2 separate regions of the Homo sapiens genome follow, and region 2 is linked to region 1. Evidence: promoter capture Hi-C in 16 types of primary human blood cells and fetal thymus (Javierre and others, 2016). All regions are on one chromosome and are shown on one strand. Each heading gives the region's core, a stretch centred on a gene start or on the middle of the fragment in contact. The rest is flanking DNA. Distances are from core to core; before and after follow the strand shown.

Region 1 (4,822 bases), core at 988-3,487:
TCAAGCTGATTTAGTCTATGAAAATGATTTTCTTATGGATGGAGGCTTTCCTATAACTTTACTTTGCTGTTGATATATTTCTTTTTTATACTAAATCTTTTTTGGTGGGAACTGTTTAGACCTATGACCTTAGAACACTGGCCTGACTTGGAGAAAAATGAACTTGAAAAGAATCCTGTGATATATGGAGCACACACCTTTACATATAAAAATTAAACTACTGGCCCATAATCAGTATAGCTCGCCTCATGATAGATTATTCTCAGGCTAAATTTATAACAGGCACTCAACAAAAGTATTCATCGCTTATCCCCTAACATTATCTAGTAGCTATAGGAGCCGGTGACCTAGTAAATAAAAAAAAAAAATCTTTAGGGGTGGAATGTAACTATATGCAGTAGCGGTAATTCTGCTCCATTTGTAAGGAGGGTGAAATGCGATATGGTCATGTACCCTCTTGGTACACAAGTTCCATAGGCTATAGAAAAACAAGTCCATACCCTCTGATATCTGCATTCCTTATTCTTGTTATAGCTTACAAATCTTCTTTAGACACTTAACAGTGATAATTCTCCCAGGGAAACTAAGGAAGCACATGAGTCATGTTTCTTAACTTTAATGTTGTATAATCTGAAAATTATCTATAGATGCTTTTTTTTTCCATTGGTGCTAGAAAATTCCGCCTAGGCTCAATCGATATCCATTTCTAAACTTCTGCAAGAAAGCTTTAACTGCTTTGACATGCCAAAAATCCAGGTGTGAATTAAACAACGAATGCTTTACCTCGTTTTCACCACTAGTTCTACCAGTCAGAATCTTTTCAAATCATCCTCAGCCAGTGCCTGTCATCCACGGCCTGGTAACACACCCTTTCACCTCCTCATACCCCGTGTCTTCGCTTTTCCAGTCCTTTGGCTGCCCTCCGGTTTCTTCCCTCACATACCTGTCTGACTAGTTCCTAGAAGCCTGGCAGAAATTGTTCTCCGATTTTAATCTGGCTGCCACAAATGAAAGACCTTGGAGTCCAAATACTCCTCTCTCAAAGCAAAATCTAAATGGATATAATTTATAAGCAAAGATAACACTTCTGTTTTTTTCTCTATAAACAAACCATGCATGGGCTTTTAAAGGAGAAAAGGAAGAGTGGATTGACAGAGAAAATAACTGTTTAGGATAGAGGTTAGGAAAAGACTGAGAGCAAGAGAAAAGGCATCAATCCCAGTTGTTAATCCACGAGGCATCCCCCAGACCCTTCTGTAAAGGTTAATGAAGGCAGTAAGGCAGTTATCTTTGTTTCGTGCACTGATGCAATCCAAGCTTCCACGGTTTAGCACATAGTAGACGCTCTATAAATATTTATTGAATGTTGAACGATGAGAGAGTAATTAAAAACCGGTAAGTTGATATCATAAATACAACGACAACGGCTCCCCTATCAAATGTTTAGTGTTCCCAGAGACAGCCCCATTGTTCTACATCTCGTTATACTCTGGCCTTTTCCCGTTTTTGTCATTCGAACTCATATACATATTGAAATCGAAGCACACACAAATCCCTGAAATGACAAACTTAAATGCTATCCAAAGGAAGTTACATTAGGTTGCTGCTTTGAAAATGAAGTCAACTCCTAATGGGTTAGCTGTTTCTGCAGCATTCTTTCCCGCCTTCTTGGAGTTGAGGTGAGGGATTAAACAATCAACCTTCTCTCTCCTTTCTCTCATTCTCAAAGTTTTTCTCGCCTTTTCCTTCCTTTCCTTTGCTTCATTTCTTTTCCCAGTCTATCGTTTCTCTAGGGGTCGTTGCTTTGCTCTTTCTCCCTCTCTGTCTGTTGGTCCCTTTGATCCTTTCTTTCTACCCCTTATTCCCAGCAGCTCCAGAAAATACCTTCTTTCTCCCCGTCTCACGTCACTTCCCTCCCTTCTCCCATCTCCCTCTCCTCTCCGAGAGGTGCGTTCCCCACTAGAGGCCAGCACTTTCTTAGTTTCGTCCTTCCAACCGGCGAGCAGAACTCGGAGAGAAAGAAGGGGGTAAAAAAGAGGAGAAAGAGAGCAAGAGAGGAAAAAACCCCTGGGCCTGGAGCGCAGAGGCCCGGGAGCTGCGTCGCCATGGCAACGGGCGCCGGCAGGAAACGAGGGACGCGCGGGAGGGAGGGGGCGGAGGGCGCCGAGGGGAGGCGGAGGGACGGCGGGGGGGGGGTCCGGCTGCCCCGGAAGCACCTCCCCGCAGCCCCCTCCTCCAGCCCGGCCCGCAGCCCCTGGCCTGCGGCCCCCACCTTCTCGGCCGGGCAGGAAGTGACAGGCCCGGAGCGAGCCCCGGAGGCCTGGCTGAGCCGCGGCCGGGCCCGCACCCGGAGCGGCGGGAGGGGCGGGGAGCCGCGGTCGCGCCGGGCGCCTCCCACCCCGCCCTCGGCGCCCCCGCCCCTCCAGGAAGGGGAGGAGGCGAGGGGAGCCCGCCGCGGAGGCCGAGCGAGCCCCCAGCCCAGCCTGGCGACTGGGGACCCCGGCACATGAGGTGGACGCCCCCGGGGAAGACTTGGGTGCACAGCCAGGCGAGAAGGTAACCGGGCGACCGAGGGCCGGGGAGGGGCAGGACCTCTGGGGGCTTGGCTGCGCGGGGATGTATCCTCAGCCACCTCCATCTGTGTAACGCCCCAGGTACCTCCCCCAGTTGCTTTCCCTGCCTACCTCCGGCGCTGAGCTCTGCGGTCCTTCGGCTCTGCCTGTCCGAGTCTTCTGGCTATTCATTCTGCTGCGCTTCATGCTGTCTGTCCGTCACCCTAGCTGCCTCTGACTGCTCATTTTCTTATTCATTTTTCCTTCTCTGACTTTGGTCCTTCCAGCCGAGCATGCTGTCTAGTTATCTCCCTGCTTTCGTGGTCCGCTGGGTTCCTCAGCCTCCAGTTCCTTGACTTCTGCCTCTGCTCTCTGTATGCACATGTCCCAGCTCACTTGGGTCAGTTCATTCCCGGCGCACCACTGGATCCACCCCCTTCCCCCAGTGTATTTGATTTCTCTTTGAAACATCATTTTCATCAAGGTTCTATATAGAACGAGGACCCTTGGGCGTCTACTCCCTGTTCTCTTGATTATTACCGTGTCTTTGGCACAGTCTTCCCTGAACCACCCCCTTCTCCCGTCCCCCTTCCTATGTCCCATCCTTTCTGCATGATAAGAGTTTCGTGCTTAGGGATATTGACTTTCTCCAACTCTCGGCCCAATGCTAAGTCCACCTCAATGTCCCATTCTAACTCCCTTCGGTAGGTCTGTGCGCCTACCCAACCCCATGTATGCCCACATGCTACCTTTTAAGATGACCATGGCTTAGCTACTCTGGGGGCATCTGTGGATCAGCTTCTCACTGTCTTCCAGTTTAATTTGGAAAATTTTGATACCTGGTGCTGCCCAAACTGTTTGTTGTCTCCATTTTTTATATTTAATCTTGTAGTCATAATGTTGATCACAAATGAATACATTTATGTGCCCGGGATCCAGGAATCCTGGTTTTGGTGGCAGTTTCCCTTGATTTTATTGAGACTTTTAAGTTGGTCCCTTTACATTTTTATTTCTAGTTCACAATCCAAAAAAAATTATTAATCAGAATTCAGGTTTGGGAAGACGAGGGGTCATACGGTTTGTATTTTCACATGTGAATGTAGGAATTATGTTCTCTATACCTAGCAAAGGGGTCTCGTGTCTCTGAGTCCAGTGAACTAAATCCAGTAATCTATAAAACTGTGCCGTGCTGCCTCTAATCCTTACCCACTTTTTTTCTTCACATGCTGATAATGAGGATTCATGGGTCTGTATCTGTTTAGTGCTTTGATATTTTGGCAAAAGATGTGGGGAGAAGGTAGACTAGTTGAAGCTGATATGATTTTTCCTATGTACTTTTTGGGTAATATACATGTTTGCAGTGACATTTGCTAGTCCTAAATGAAACTAAAGACTGGGGGGGGATAATAGTGTGATTGGATGATACTGGGAATGAGATAATAAGAAATATCCTCAGCTTTATTGCCAAGGCCAAGCAGTTTGATACTTTGCTTGTTTGTTTGTTTTGGATGCAATCCCTAAGACCAGTCCATTCACCCTAATGAAACTGTTGACAACACTTAGCAGAAATTCTGGTTTGATGTTTATATTCTTAAGCCAGATAATATTTTGGTGACCTGATATTTCTAGTGGCCCAGTGCCTCAGAAGTAGAGAAAATAGTGTGTAGCTTAACAAAAGAGAAAAACAAAAAAAAAGAATGAGTAAAAACCTTATTGTCATTTAGTGCTGCTTTGGAAGAATATTTCTTCTTCTCATCTCCTGCCTCTTTGCTTGGTTCTTAGCAGTGTTTTCATATGTGTCTTTTTGCAAATGTAAGTGTAGTCCCCAGTGGGTAAATTCTGACATGTTAGTAGATTATAAAGTTGCATCTTACTTTCTTGAAGATTTTCATTGTGTGTATTTCTATGTTTCATACTCCGGAGTCATTTCTTAAAATGATATATTACATTCAGTATGAAGCCTCCTTTGCAGTGAGGAAACAGGTATAAGGAAGGAAAGCAACATGCCTGAGGTGTTATTAGTAGCCTGAGCTGGAACCAGGCAGCTATTTGGGCTATGTGGGCTGTAGGTGAGCTCTTCTGCTTCCTAGTTTTATGACCTTCCATGACCCACTGAATGTGTCTGTATCTTAAGGTCCTCCTCCATAAAATGAGGATAACTACTCACTATCATAGTGAATGACACTGCCTTAATTACAGTTTGGTTTGAAGAAGCATGTGTTAGTCCAAAGACTTGATACTTACTAGGGCAACTTCTTTAACCTCAGAAA
Region 2 (4,815 bases), core at 2,233-4,732, 200 kb before region 1:
CAGATGAAAAGGTGCCTAGGGCAAAGTATGGAAAAGGGGCACGGAGCTTCTTTGCCCTTCCTGGGTGCGTCACCCTCCAGGATCTGCTACGTGTTCAGCTATCTGGAAGCATTTTGAGCCCAATCCTTTTGGGTTTTTTGGAGACTTCGTTACACAGGCATGATTGATTAAACCACTGGCCACTGGTGATCAACTTGACTGTTAGCCCGTCTCCCGTCTCCAGAGGTTAGGGGATGAGACGGAAGGTTCCAACCCTCTAATCATGCCTTGGTCTTTCTGGTGACCAGCCTCCATACTAAAGCTGCCTAGGGGCTGCCAGCCATCAGTCAATTATTAGCATACAGAAAGACATCATTTTGGAGATTCTTATGATTTTAGGAGTTGTATGCCAGGAAACAGGGTTGAAGACCAAGTATATATTTTGTAATATCACACTTTTAAGAGACACAAATTTGTTATTTTTCTCCACAAACCTGATTCAACTCCCGTGATTCCTATCCAAGAGGGGATAGTGTTGAAAACAAGTCTTTAGTATTATTATTTTTTATCCTATGTACAGTCTTTCCCGAAGCAAGCCTGTATTAACTGACAAATGGAATAAATGCTATTAAAATTCTATCGTATGTTACAATAGAATTCTATACAGATTCCACTGTGTGTTACAGTAGAGTTCTATACAGATTCCACTGTGTGTTACAATAGAGTTCTATACAGATTCCATTATGTGTTACAGTAGAGTTCTATACAGATTCTATTGTGTGTTAGAGTTTTATACATATTCTATTTTATATTAGTGTATTTTTTTCCTTTAGCTTTATTTTTCTTCAGTATTTGGGATTTTGAGCTCATATGTTAATGGATTTTCTTAGTAAGAGGTACCTTAATATCTTCAGATGGTAGATTGTGATTTTTTGCTTTTTCTGTACTAGAATAAATACCTTTGGGAAGGGTCCTCACAAGAAAGATGAGAGGGAGAGAAATGACTTTCATTTTAACTTTTTTTCTTTTATTCTGTGATGTAATAGAAATCTTTTATGCTCTCATTTGTCCTCTGTACAGAATAGGTTGACACATCCTTTTGGAAGCTTTAAATATTTGTAATGTATTTTGAGATTTTGACTCTAAACATTGAACTTTTCCTTTGTTTATTAAGGAAATTTGATCCAGTAAGAAACAACACTAAGTTTTAGATCCCAGGATGTTGACTTGAAAAACTTTTAAAGTAGAAAAATTATTCCTCGGGTTGGTCTAATAAGGGAACTAAAAGTTGGGAGAAACAAAGTGGTACTTTCTAAACTATTACCTTAGAAAAAATTTAGGAAATCTTAAGCAGTGAAACAAATGTCTGCTTATTTCCTATTTCAGAAGATGAATGAAGCACTTTAAGATTCCCATATACTCAGTTTTGCCTGAGTATTCCAAGATGCAGTGCTGTTTTTTATTGGTATGCTGATCCAGAAGTTTGTGTGGGAAAACTCTCAAAAATAAACTCTCTTTGTAGAATTTCTCTTTATTTCAAAAAAGGTACTTTTGTCAGTAGTATTTATTCAGCATCTGATATTTATACATTGTTTTTCTTGATGCACTGGAGGAAATAAAGAGAGGATGGGATTGGTTGACCTGAGCTTACATTCTAAGAGAGGAAATACTATACGGTACTCATCTATACTATATGTGGACATTTGCAATTGCTGCGTTTATGTTTCGCTACTGGAGAATATTTTCTTACAGTTATCTTATTGGGTAACCAAGTTTACTCCTTTAAACTACTAGGAAAAAAGTTTGCCATTTTATTTTATAGAGGACTCTACTGTCTTTTAAAATAGTGAATATTGTCTGAATTTTAAGATTCTGGATCATTAGCAGGACTGTCATTTTATTGGTGCACTTTTGAGCTCCTGTACTATTTAGATTTACTGGAATCCTTTTGACTTGTCAGCATTTCTGTTTTTTCCTGTTTTTCTTTTTTCTTTATGTTAGCAGATGGGAAAAATAGAAAAGTAGATGTTTTGAAATTCTGTTAAGAGGAAACAGCTGTGCCCAAGGCTAGGAGAGAACCATTGAGGGGCAGAAGCAGGCAGGCACGCCTGGAGCCTCTACCTTTGGGATTGAAGTCTTCACCCAACACTTCTGGCATCTCAGATGTGAATCCAGTTGGAGCACCCCTAAGAAGGCAAGCAGCTGTTGCTGCAGCAGCCCTTGGGGAGGCCCCATCGCTTGGGCACCGAGGAAGGCTAGCCGCATGTCCTCCTGTGGGAATGGCAGTGTACCACTGGACAGGTTTCACTTTCCCTGGTTTCACTTTCTGTGGTTTCAGTTACGCCCTGACACAGTACAACAGGATATTTTGAGAGTGGGAGAGACACCGCATTCATATAACTTTTATCATAGTATATTGTTATAATTGTTCTATTTTATTGCTAACATCTTACTGTGCCTAATATGCAAATTATCATAGATATGTATGTTTAGGAAAAAACATAGTATATGTACTATCTGCAGTTTCAGGCATCCACTGGGGGTCTTGGAATTATCCCTTGTGGATATGGAGGGACTACTGTACCTGGTAATCAGAGATTTAATGTAGAAAAATGTGGTTTTTGTTTTGTTTTGTTTTGAGATGGAGTCTTGCTGTTTTCCAGGCTGGAGTCCAGTGGCATCATCTGGGGTCACTGCAGTTTCGACTTCCCAGATTCAAGTGATTCTCCTGCCTCCGCCACCTGAGTAGCTGGGTTTACAAGCATGCACCAACACACCCGGCTATTTTTTTTTTTTGTATTTTTAGTAGAGATGGAGTCTTAATCATGTCAGCCAGGCTGGTCTTGAACTCCTGACCTCAAGTGATCTGCCCACCTCAGCCTCCCAAAATGAACTACCGCTCCCCGCCAGTTTTGTTTGTTTGTTTGTTTGTTTCCTTCTTTTTTTTTTTTTTTTTTTTGATGGAGTTTCGCTCTGTCACCCAGGCTGGAGAGCAGTGGCACGATCTCCACTCACTACAACCTCCGCCTCCTGGGTTCAAGCGATTATCCTGCCTCAGCCTCCCGAGTAGCTGGGATTACAGGCATGTACTGCCACACCTGGCTCATTTTTGTATTTTTAGTAAAGACAGGGTTTTGCCATATTGGCCAGGCTGGTCTCAAACTCCTGACCAAGTGATCCGCCCACCTTGGCCTTCCAAAGTTCTGGGATTACAGGCAGGAGCCATCATGCCTGGCCTAGAAAAACATGTTGACTGAAGGCTTTGTGGCTCTTCAGAGGGGAATATTATTTTCTGATTTCAGAATCATCGGGAACACTGTTGTAGCCCATGTAATTTCTGACTACTGATGTATCAGCAGCGGAACATTTCTGCTTCCCAATTGCTAGTGACTATAACATTCCATCCTGACTGCTATTGGGGCAGCAACTGCCACACTCAGGTGAAGACCCACTGTGCAATGAAATTAATCATTGATTGGCAAGGCATGGTGGCTCACAGCCATAACCCCAGCACTTTGGGAGGCCAAAGTGGGAGGATTGGTTGAGGCCAGGAGTTTGAGATCAGTCTGGGCAACGTAGTGAGACCACATCTTTACCAAAAAAAAAAAAAAAAAAAAAAAATTAGAGACCGGGCCTGTTGGCTCACGCCTATAATTCCATCATTTTGGGCAACATGGCAAAACCCCATATCTACTAAAAAGAGAAAAGTACGAAAATTAGCTGGGCATGGTGGTGGGCATCTGTAATCCCAGCTACTCAGGAGGCTGAGGCAGGAGAATTGCTTGAACCCAGGAGACAGAAGTTGCAGTGAGCCAAGGTTGCGCCACTGCACTCCAGCCTGGGTGGCAGAGCAAGACTCCATCTCAAGGAAAAAAAAAAAATTAGCCTGATGTGATTTGCTCCTGTCATCTCAGCTACTTGGGAGGCAGAGGAGACAGGTGGATCACTTAGGCCGAGGAGTTTGAGGCTGCAATGGGCTATGATTGCACCACTGCACTCCAGCCTGGGTGACTGAAACCATGTCTCAGAAAGAAAAAAAAAATCATCTGCAAACGGATGAGTTTCAAGAGCCGAGTGTCAGGCCAAGGCACGGACATAGCTTCAGAGTGTTGGAAGTCAGTGACAGAGTCTTTTAATCACTACTGATTACAAACTTTTTTTTTTTATTATTATAAGTTTTAGGGTACATGTGCACAATGTGCAGGTTAGTTACATATGTATACATGTGACATGCTGGTGCGCTGCACCCACTAACTCATCATCTAGCATTAGGTATATCTCCCAATGCTATCCCTCCCCCCTCCCCCAAACATTTTAAGGGCATTTTTACAATTCCTTCATCAAGGGGAGCTGGGGATATTCTACGTCAGGTATTCTGGCGTGACTTTTTCTTTTGTGGAGCTTTGCTTTCTGAGACCTTCCCAAGTGGCCTGGAAGGCACTGTGTGGCTATAACTTTTTTCTAATGAGCATAGTATGTCTTTGGGTACAGCGTCTGGTCAGGGACACACTGTGGCCTTCCCTATGATTGTCCGCAGGGAAGAGACCGAAATGCAACCCATAAAAAAAGTCGTTCCATCAGGTTGAATTGACAGTGCAGGTTTGCACTGTACCTTTCCCATACTGTGGTTAAAATGGAAATCTCTTTTCAAGAAAAGTTTCATAGGAGAAAAAGTTTATCAGAAACACTCTGTTTAAGGAGGAGGGAGGATAAGGTTTACTGCCTGTAATATGCATGGAATATCCTGCTGTAGGGAAGCCATAGTGTTTATATATTTTTCATTTTAATGAGCCTGGTCCTTATCTTCTTTTTTGTGCGCGTGAGACGGAATTTCTC

Evidence for each region. Contacts are between HindIII fragments. The CHiCAGO score rates a contact against its expected background, and 5 or more counts as called.
Region 2: a contact is called between a fragment that was not itself captured here and the fragment with the promoter of PHC1 in region 1, in 4 of 17 cell types (naive CD4 T cells, non-activated CD4 T cells, naive B cells and 1 more). The highest score is 5.4, in naive CD4 T cells.

Annotation. Positions count from the first base shown.
Region 1 is chr12:8,912,272-8,917,093 of GRCh38, forward strand. PHC1 (polyhomeotic homolog 1) reads left to right here and starts at 2,238. Exons shown (of 15, transcript NM_004426.3): 1 at 2,238-2,556. RefSeq lists silencers at 2,120-2,229, 2,280-2,329, 2,400-2,689. The HindIII fragment of the contact is 8,234 bases long and covers 1,316-4,822 here.
Region 2 is chr12:8,707,390-8,712,204 of GRCh38, forward strand. The region is part of intron 1 of RIMKLB (ribosomal modification protein rimK like family member B); the gene reads left to right. Among named protein-coding and RNA genes, the nearest start is that of RIMKLB, 12 kb to the left of the region's middle. The HindIII fragment of the contact is 4,798 bases long and covers 1,084-4,815 here.